Linked DNA regions of Homo sapiens: all the other regions are linked to region 1. The links are contacts of gene promoters, found by promoter capture Hi-C in blood cells and fetal thymus (Javierre and others, 2016). All regions are on one chromosome and are shown on one strand. The core of a region is centred on a gene start or on the middle of the fragment in contact, and the rest is flanking DNA. Distances in the headings are between cores, read along the strand shown.

Region 1 (3,527 bases), core at 631-3,130:
TTAAACCAACTGCTAATATTCTACCCAATACAGTGTCATATATATATCCGTATGTATATATATAATATTGCCTGATACACACAAACACACACACACATATATATATGTATGTAACAGGCAATAATTGTTCGTGATTTAGTGATAGTAGGAACTCAGTATTTATTCATTGATCAATTAATAGTTTGAACACATTCTATATTTAGAGCATTAGATGAGTCAAGTGCTACTTTCTTTTTTAAAAAAATGTTAGAACCAGCTGGACGCAGTGGCTCACGCCTGTAATCCCAACACTTTGGGAGGCTGAGGCAGGTGGATCACGAGGTCAGGAGATCAAGACCATCCTGGCTAACACAGAGAAACCCCGTCTCTACTAAAAATACAAAAAATTAGCCAGGCGTGATGGCAGGTGCCTGTGATCCCAGCTACTTGGGATGCTGAGGCAGGATAACGGTGTGAACTCGGGAGGCGGAGCTTGCAGTGAGCTGAGATCGCGCCACTGCACTCCAGCCTGGGCTACACAGGCAGACTCCGTCTCAAAAAAAAAAAAAAAAAAATGTTAGAACCATTCAACTAGCATTCTGTAGACCAAATTATCTAAACAGTAGCTCTCCTCTTCCTTTTTCTGCCATGTTATCCATAAGATTTGGCCTGTATCACCTTATAATAAATGAAGAGAGTCTTAAATTCTTATAATACCAAACTCCTTTGGAGAGAATTCAGAATAGATTTATGTCATCTCAAATTCTATCCTATTCCAGTTAATGTTACAGACAGATTCTAGTATACTTTACAAAGATAGGTGAATAAGTAGAGTTTTGAAAAGATACAGACATAAAAGTGAAGAACAGATGCCTTCTGATGCTAGATTTTCCAAAACTCCTACTGTTATGCTTATATAGAAATCATTCTCAGACCTTCCTTGGATTAATTTCTGTTCCTAGAGCAAACTGGTAGTTATTTCTTTCTTTAATAGAACATGAACTTGTCCATCACATCCTAGAAAGTTAGTCCTAGGGATATCCTTTAAAGCCTAAAGGAGTAAATTAAGAGCAAAAAAAGGAAGTAGACCTTGCAACAGGTGGTGAGTGTCTGAGATATAGCACTAGGAGAGAAATAATATAGATTGAAAACAGAAATCCTTAAACATTTCTCATATAAACCCATGAAAGATAGATCCATAAATATTGTGGGGACTATGGGGACTAGGAAGCTTGGAAGTATCCCTAATCTAGATAGTGATGGTAGGCTAAATATCTACGGCTTCCGTAAACGTTCCTCTAAACCTCCCTGTAAAAAACACACTAAGCTGATTGTGTAATGAGCTGATCCAGTACAATTGCCTCCAATTTCATTCTGGACCCTGAACAGGAGGGGACATCGTGACAAAGCAAATTGTCTGGTATCATGAATTTGGAACACCGTAAGTGATCTTTACTGAGGGTTACATTCTGTCATTGTCAGCCTTTTAAGGAGGCCTTGCCACCAGCGCAGGGGAGGTGAAGTCTAAGGGAAGGTAATATTGTCAATGCCTGCTAATTAGTTCTACCCTGGAGATTTTAACTTTCTGCGAAGTTTTTAAAAACAACTTCCAAAACTCTGCTGATCCTGAAATGTTCGAGAATTCAGAGTTCCTAGACAATGGCTACTGTCCCCCTTCCCACTGATTAGGGGAGTTGGCATTTCAGGAACCAGAGTTTCTAAGGGCGCCAAATAGAAGGGCTCAAAGGGAATCAGCAGGCGATGGTTACTGTGGGCGGGTAAATCAGGTGATTTAGAGGAGGGGTTTGGCGAGGTTGGGGTCGGGCTTTAAACGTGGGAGGGCTAATTAACAGGAGATTAACTGGAGAGGGGCGGTGCCTGCGTCCGGCCCGCGCGGCCACAGTCCCTGCATTGCGCGCGACCCGGCGGCGGGACAGGCTTGCTGCTTCCTCCTCCTCGGCCTCACCGTGCGTACTGGGAGGGGAGAAGGGGACCGCATGCAAAGGGTGGCAGGCAGGGAGGGCCAGGGTGGGTGGCAGATGGAAGACTTGGGGGGGTCTCTGCCAGCTGGAAGTGCTTGGCTCCACTTAGCAGCTAAACTTAGCTTTTCAATCGATCGCTTTTGAAAGGGAATTGTATTTCTGTCCCCGTGCGGGTAAGTTTTCCCATTTCTCAAACTCCAGGAATGAAACGAGAGAGTCTTTTCATGCTTGAGTGATGATTTCCAAACTTAGCCTTTTCAAGTCAAAGTAACCTCCTGTTTGAAAGGGTCCCTTGAACTCTGGGGAAGGAGGAAAAGGCACGTGTAGTAATGGAGGAAATGCCTGTAGTTTGAACGACTGCTGTTCTCCCCAAGAGTGCAAAAGCCTGCGATGTCTCAGGTTTCATGGGCATAGTGGCCTTTATGCCTATTGTAAGGCAGGATTTGCTCTTCTGAGTTCACTTTGATAGGAGAAACATCAGCAAGTTTTAAAATAATACTAAATAATACTACTGCTAATAATGCTAGCTATCGAAACAAGAGGATGTGGGTTAGATGATAATATTTTTGTGTGATATTATAGCCAGTGACAAGAGAGCTAAGGGTGAGCCCCTTGGGACGGTTCTCACCTGTGCCCCACTTCCCCAGTCTGGAGGAGGAAGCCATGTGGAAGGAGAAAAGGAGAAGGGAACTCTCTTTTTCGGGAATTAAGGTGTCATATATTGCTCTAGCTGGCTTGGGACAGAGGAGAGAGGAGTGCATGTAAATCTTCTAGTCTCTCTGCTTCTCTTGAAATGTGGCAGTCTGAGCTCCACGTTTATATTCCCCTATTTCTTCTCCCTAATTTCTTACCCAGTGAGTGCTGAGTGGGTGCCCGCAAGCATTGCTGTATAGCACCCAGGCCTCCAGTGAGCAATCCTTAAAGCCCAGTTTTCCTGGGGTCCCAGCCTGCTGTGAGTCCCAGCCTACACCTACCTTTTGCATATGCTTTTCTTGGCCTTAGGATAGTACTGGACTTTGTTGTCCTCTGCTGTTTCCAAAATAAGAGGGCTATGTGTGCGATTATCTTTGGTAATTAAAAAAAAAAAAAAAAAAAAGGCAAATCAGTCCAAATTTGGATATTACCCTCTCTGGCAGACGAGTAAAATTTTTCTACCGCTTTGTTTTAGAGTGGTGTCTATGAATCCCTGAGATTGGAAAAGGAGGTCAGGTCAGCACAGAGAAAGGCCTTACCCCACCACTCTCCCGAGAGGCACCAGCATTTCACCTGCAGCCTCTGGGCTCTGAACCCCACTTTGCATGAGACCACATAGTGGGCTGAGTCTGCAGCCACCACGATGCCTTCAGGAAATGCTAGAATTCATCTAGAGTTCCAGATTAACGTATCCGCAACATGGCCACCGAATTATCTTTTTTCTTTATCTCATGTGTAGTGTTTGTTAGTTTTAGAAGGTACAAAATTGCAGAGTCATGGCCCTGGGGATGCGTGCCCAGATTATTCATGTGTTTCACAATATTGATGCAGAAAGGCTGGCCACCTCATCCTGAGAAGAGAACTTTGCTCATT
Region 2 (3,558 bases), core at 459-2,958, 330 kb before region 1:
ACCCAGGAGGTCAAGGCTGCAGTGAGCCATGATTGCACCACTGCACTCCAGCCTGGGCGACAGAGTGAGACCCTGTCTCAAAAAAAAAAAAAAAAAAAAAAAAAAAGAAAGAAAGATTAACTTAAACCCACTCTAAAAATAGAAGTTATGTACTTTGATTAGTAACTTATTTCTGGCATTACTACAGTTCATTTTGAACACCTTAAGTTTTAAAAGGAAAGGGAACATCTGACTTACTGGACATACTCAAGGACTTTTGTTTCAATCAGGTGCTTGTTTCGATCAGGTGCGTCTACCAGTATTTTGAAGGGTTTGCATAATTATGCAGAATCTTCTCCTAGTCAGTAACCAAGGATTATACAGTCAGAGTCCCCACTTTGTATTCCACTTAAATCATACTGTTTTGCATTATTTTAAATGGTTGCAACTTTATTTTTATTGAGGGGAAGGCATCCGGAAGAAATGTGGTTATCATAAGATCATCTTTCCTTTGGGGCATTGGAGATATTTTCCAACCCTAAAATTGTGATTTCTTTCTGACTGCCATTATGCTTAAACAAGCATCATTGCTTAGTTATCGTGTTCTATTGCATTGCTAACGTGATGGACTGGACCGACAGAGAATTACTCTGTAGCTCACTATTCAGATTGGAAGAAAGCACTGGAAAGAGCAGGTGTTTGAATTTTTCATTTTTCTTCTTATGCTTTTCTTTCTCTCTTTCTCTTTACCCCCTTTCTCACATGGGTAGCTAATTATCCTTGGATCATGTAAGCATGTCTTTGTGGAATCACAGTCTCCAGATTTAGTATTAGTATCACATTGATACCTCCAGAGGGGCTTTCTGCTTCCATATGTACTCTGGCCAGTGCTTCAACCGTAACACTGCATCTTTATTATATTGCCCTAAGTGATTTCCAAACCTATGTTGAACAAAAGAATACAATATTGAAGACTTTTAATTTGAGGGCTTATATCTTTGCATACCCTGCTTAATTTTTTTCCAAGTGTCCCATTGCAGATTGCAAGTATAAGTTAGTGTCGGAATTACCATACGAAACTCTCTTTCTAACTTTAATCGGTAATTTCTCAGCAATAGAAAACATGATGCTAATGAATAATGTACCCAAAAGCTCTTATTATAGGGTTGGTATGAATTCCACTTAATGACAAGCTTTCTCAAGCAGCAGTTGATTTGAAATCCTACTTTTCATTAGTGAAGTATAAAATGTTAATAATACCTTCCACTGTGCTGTTCTTTTGTAGCATAGCAGCATATATCTTCCCTGTTCACCATGGACTCTTTTTAAGATCTTACTAGTAACTTCCTATAACATAAATAAGATTTGTTCAAGAAATAAAAATGTGTGTTTTCCCATTGTTAGCTATATGTTTTTCTAATAATCACATCCGAAGCTTATTATACAGTAGTAGCCTTAAGATATTATTTTTTTAAATATACTACTTTGGTCTTAATACTAGTTTTTAATCTCTTCTTGTTTCTATGAAGTCTGAATGAGATTTTCAAAATTGAATAATAATTTGATCCGTTAATCTTTTGAAGCTAGTAATTTTATTTTCCTCTCTTTGCAGTCTCTGAGGTTCGCAAATGAATAGAGCTTCATTATTGCAGTCTGCATTTAATAACAATTATCCATTATCTTGTAATTAAGACTCCCTGTAACGAATCATGAGGACAATGCAAAAATACATAGTACATTTCTTTAATGAACTGGAAAATGTTCATCTTGTTCTATTTAGTAATGAGTTGCTGAATAGTCATTAAATCCACTGGAGAATAGAGCTAGATGGATTTTGAAGACTGTCTTGAGTTTGTGGTTAATCTATTAGAATTAAAATTTCATCTTCTATTTTTATCAACAGCTGATTAGAAGTCATTCTGTTTGACCAAATTGATTAGAAGACCATATACAAGGGCAGCTGTTGTTTAATGAAAGTTTTTAATGAAACTGTACCATGGAGACTTGTAATTATAGTCCTTAGAAAAGCTTTGAGTTGCCTTAGACCACAAAAATAGTATTGTGCTAAAGATTTCAAATTAGGAAAATAAAAAATACAATTTAATATAATACTATAAATTTATTATTAATTTTAATTTCAACTAATCACAGTTGAATATTAGTCTACTTAGTGTGTTCCTTTTGACTTTTTCAGCCCTTTCATCTCTTAGTTTAGTCATTTAGTTGAAATTGTGGGCACTGATGAAAGAACATTTATAGGGATAGCTATTGTAATTTGAGATATTTTCTCATAAGATTTTTGTCCCCAAGCTGAGCAGAGGTAAGCTTGGCTAATGTTAGATTTATGTGAGCTCTGAAGAGAGTCTGTAGTGCTGTGTGGTGTTGGTAATTCAAAATGTAGCATTTATTTCTCTAAAGTAATTTCGTTTTAGCAGAAGGGCAAAGGAAGCAATGTTAAAATGAGAAGTAAAACAAAAGTGTGTCCTACTTAGTCCCATTGGAAAATCCATTTTTCTTTTGACAGCAGTAAAGTAATGATGTACTTTCTAAAATATTTTGTGTAATTAAAGCTAGGTCTTATTCCTCACTTAAAAAATAGCCAGTGTCTGCATGCCTGAACTATTTTTAATATCTTGTGGTCTCTGACTCTCAATTGTCCTTTCTCAACACATCCAATACAGACACTAAATTTAGCATCTTAAAACACTGATTTCATGTGATCAGACCTCACATTACCTAAAGAACAGAGCCCAATGTCTGTGGGTTCAAAGCTCTCTATAATATTTTCCTAAGGGATATTTACAGTCACATCTTCTAAAACATACATTCATATATCTGTGTATATGTCCCTCCTCCCACCTCACCTCCAACACAGACTTCTTAGATGTATTCTTTCATTATTTGGTATGCCATATACTTTCTTTGCTTTTGGTGTTTCTTTTTATGGTGGTGTTCTTCCATGTGTGCCCTCTCATCTTTAAATTTTGTCTCTCCTTGAAGGTCTGTAACACATTCCATCTGTTCCATGAAGCCTTCCCGTATTATTCTAGCTAAAGTTATTTCTCTGATCCTTTGTAATTCTTATTGATCATAATACTTACTGGGCATATGATATAGTTTGGATTTTTGTCCCTTCCAACTCACATGTTGAAATGTGATTCCCAGTGTTAGAGATGGGGCCTGGTGGGAGGGGATTGGATCATGGAGGTAGATCCTTCATGAATGGCTTTAGCACCATCCCTTTTGGTGATGAGTGATTTCTTGCTCTGAGCTCACATGAGATCTGGTTTTTTAAAAGAGCATGGCACCTCCCCGCATCTCACTCCCACTCTCGCCATCTGACATGCCTGCTCTCTTTGCTTTCTGCTGTGATTGTAAGCCTCCCAGGAGCCTCTCTAGGAGCAGATCCAAGCACCACACTTACTGTACAGTCTGCAGAATTGTGAGCCAATTAAACCTCTTTTCTTTATAAATTACCCAATGTATTAGTCCACAGGCTGTGCAGGAAGCATGGCTGGGGAGGCCTTAGGAAACTTTTAGTCATGGTGGAAGAGGAAGCAGGCATGTCTTAAATGGCTG
Region 3 (3,271 bases), core at 690-3,189, 350 kb before region 1:
CTTGCCTAGAAAAATTCACAGGTGCAAAGACTGGTACATAGTAAATGCCTAGTACATGCTTGCTGATAGATTCAGGTATCACACATATGAGTACAGTGGCATCAATGATATATCTGTAATCAACTTGTATAGAAACCAATTTTTAAATAAAGCTGTATTTCCCCTTTAAACATTAAGGGATTTTATTTTCTAAGTGAAATTCTGGCACATGACATAGAGGCTAGACCTGTGTTCATGTGTCTGAGATTCTGTTATTCCTTTATCTGTAATTCCTAGCATATTAACTCTTGGTTATTTATTCCTTAATATCTGTGCCACGTGGTTACTGATCTATTAGAAAATTCTTTTTTTTGAGACGGAGTCTCGTTCTGTCGCCCAGGCTGGAGTGCAGTGGCGCGATCTCTGCTCACTGCAAGCTCTGCCTCCCGGGTTCACGCCATTCTCCTGCCTCAGCCTCCTGAATAGCTGGGACTACAGGCGCCTGCAACCACGCCTGGCTAATTTTTTGTATTTTTAGTAGAGACGGGGTTTCACCATGTTAGCCAGCATGGTCTCGATCTCCTGACCTCGCGATCCACCCACCTCGGCCTCCCAAAGTGCTGGGATTACAGGCGTGAGCCACCGCGCCTGGCCAGAAAATTCTTAAAATGGTGGGAAATTGGAATCCTTGAATGGATCCCTCAGTATATTGTACCAGGTAGATGCTTGATTATGCATATTTATTGAATGAATAAATGAAAAAAGAGTAATAAATCATGTGAAGTTGGTAGTTTATAAATTCTTTCTGCAGTAATCCCAAGAGGGAGGGAGGGAGGAGAGGTATCTTATTATCATCTTTTAGTAGATGAAAACCTGAAGCTCAGAAGTTAAGTGAATAGACCAAGGCCACACACTGAGTAAGTGGCAGAATTTTCTGAAGGACTTTTGACTCTAAACTCCATGCTTTTATTAATGCACAACCCTGCTCTCTATCCTGCAATTGATCTGTATATCAGATAATATTTATAAGCTGTGTTTAACTTTTGGAGGCACAGATGTTTCTAGAGGCCCTGAATGAGATTGTATGTTGCACTTTACTTTTCTGTTGAGGGCAAGAAAAGGAAGACATAATGGCAAGGTGTTTCTATAGAGAGGCAAGGTGTTTGCAGAAATTTATAGGAGTTGGTGAACATGAAATCAATATAAAAGAGAAAAATGACAGCAAGCCCGGGGCCACCTGCCTATGATTGGCCCACAGTAACTCCTTGTTGAAAAGAAAAGGTAGGGTGCCCAGAGCTAAAAGATCTCTTCTCAGGCTGCTTCCACTGTTATTTGTGTTTAGCTACTCTGTTGATGTCCCTGTAGTGATGCACTTAGAAAATTAACCAGGGTTGTGATACAACTGCCACTTGAGTTCTGTACTTTTCTTCCAGACTCTCTTACCTAGGGTGCCCAGAGAACAGCTAGGGAGTGACAAGAAAAGCAGATCTTTCTGTTTTCCACCTGATGGAGGAGTAGGAGAGATGTTAAAGCTGAAGGCAGTCTGAAAATGAAGGAATAGAGTAGGGAGGATGGAGGGGTATGGGAGAATGGAAGTGGTATCAGAATATTTAGAGGGAAGTCACAGCACAGGATGAGATAAATTGAACCCTTCTCATGAAGAGTGGTTGGAAAGAAAGTGGACATCTAATTAGGAGGAGGAAAATCCTTGGGGTTGTAATATTATGTTCAAATACTTGGAAGATTTTCCTGATAAAGGAAGATTTTTCTCTCTTAACTCAAAGTAGTAGGACTAGGACCAACTTTTAGACATTGTGGGAAGATGGCTTTTGAGCTAGTTATTATAGGAAGAATTTCGTCAGTGTCTGAATCACCTGGAAATTGGGTGCGCCACATCAGGAGGTAGGAGACGTTCGAGGCACAGGCTGAGTGAGCCTGATGGAGCTACACTAAGACAGACTCAGCAAACATTAGAGATGCCTTCTCTTTCAGAGTTAATGTGATTCTATGCAGAAGAGAAAATTATTTCATATGCAGACACAGACACACACACAGAGCATGTGTGTGTGTGTGTGTGTGTGTGTGTGTGTGTGTAATTTAAGAGTAGATTACAATCCAGTATACACAGGGCCCCAAAATATAGAAAACATGGGAAAAGAGGAGTGTATTAGTTTCTTGGGCTCGCTGTAACAGAGTACCGCAAATTAGATGGCCTTAAGCAACAGAAATGTGTTCTTAAGGTTCTGGAGGCCAGAAGCCCGCAGTCAGGGTGTCAGCAGGCTTATGCTCCCTCTGAAACCTGTAGGCAAGCCCTTCTTGCTTATTCTGGCTTCTGGTGTTTGCCAGCAATGCTTGACATACCTTGGCTTCACTCCAGTCTCTGCCTCTGTCACTAGATGGCTGTCTTCCCTCTGTGTGTCTCTGTCTGTGTCTCTTCTCCTCTTCTTATAAGGAAACCAGTAATGTAATGGCCCACCTTACTCAGTATGACCTTATCTTAACTAATGACATCTTCAGTGGCCCTCTTTCCAAATAAGGTCTCTTCCTGAGGTATTGAGGGGTGAGATTTTGACATCTCTTTTTTGGGGGAAACAATTCAAAGCAAAGAGAAATAGGATTCTTGCTTTATGGTCTTATTATTTTCTGTCAAGAAGACCTGAAGAAGTTAGAGAAAAATATTTTGACTCAAACCCAGCAAACTTGAATTCAGGTACAAAAGATTGATTTTTCCCTCTCAGCAATGTTGAATGGTTTTGTGGATAGGGGAAATCTAGTAGATATTAAATATTTTTATCTGCAAAAAGCATTTGGTAAGGTTCTCAATGGGAGATTAATGACTAAAATAAAGAATGAGGCATTAGGAGATAAATTTGCTTATGAGCAAGAGACAGATACTAACAGTAGAAGGAAATACTTTTTAGATTGGAAAGGAGTGACATATAGCACAAGCCAGGAATCAGTTTTGGGACCTATGGGTTTTTCACTTTATTTTTATTGGACTTTGTAATAAAAATACAGATCTTCAAACAGTCCAAGACAGAGTGAGTAATACTACAAGCATCAGTAATCAAAAGTTATTCTCTATCATAAACTAAATGACTGATAATAAATACTGACACAAGACTACACAATGTACCATAATATTATAAAATGGAGCAGGCAATTCTCTTGTGTTCTCTTTTCCTCCGCATGGGTGAATATTTCTTTATTTGCTGTTTAAAAAAAATATTTGCAGGCTTCTAGGATTACTTTATAAGCCAAATGAATGAAAAAAATGATTTTTTTTTTAATT

The links. The method cuts DNA at HindIII sites, captures the fragments that hold promoters and counts their contacts. A CHiCAGO score of 5 or more calls a contact.
Region 2: a contact is called between a fragment that was not itself captured here and the fragment with the promoter of MGST1 in region 1, in 1 of 17 cell types (M1 macrophages). The highest score is 5.3, in M1 macrophages.
Region 3: a contact is called between a fragment that was not itself captured here and the fragment with the promoter of MGST1 in region 1, in 1 of 17 cell types (megakaryocytes). The highest score is 6.5, in megakaryocytes.

The regions. Positions count from the first base shown.
Region 1 is chr12:16,345,765-16,349,291 of GRCh38, forward strand. MGST1 (microsomal glutathione S-transferase 1) reads left to right here and starts at 1,881. Exons shown (of 4, transcript NM_020300.5): 1 at 1,881-1,946. RefSeq lists enhancers at 971-1,900, 2,831-3,527. The HindIII fragment of the contact is 2,670 bases long and covers 1,209-3,527 here.
Region 2 is chr12:16,016,713-16,020,270 of GRCh38, forward strand. The region is part of intron 6 of DERA (deoxyribose-phosphate aldolase); the gene reads left to right. Among named protein-coding and RNA genes, the nearest start is that of DERA, 110 kb to the left of the region's middle. RefSeq lists an enhancer at 944-2,178. The HindIII fragment of the contact is 593 bases long and covers 1,413-2,005 here.
Region 3 is chr12:15,994,120-15,997,390 of GRCh38, forward strand. All of the region lies in intron 6 of DERA (deoxyribose-phosphate aldolase), which reads left to right. Among named protein-coding and RNA genes, the nearest start is that of DERA, 84 kb to the left of the region's middle. The HindIII fragment of the contact is 4,111 bases long and covers 1-3,271 here.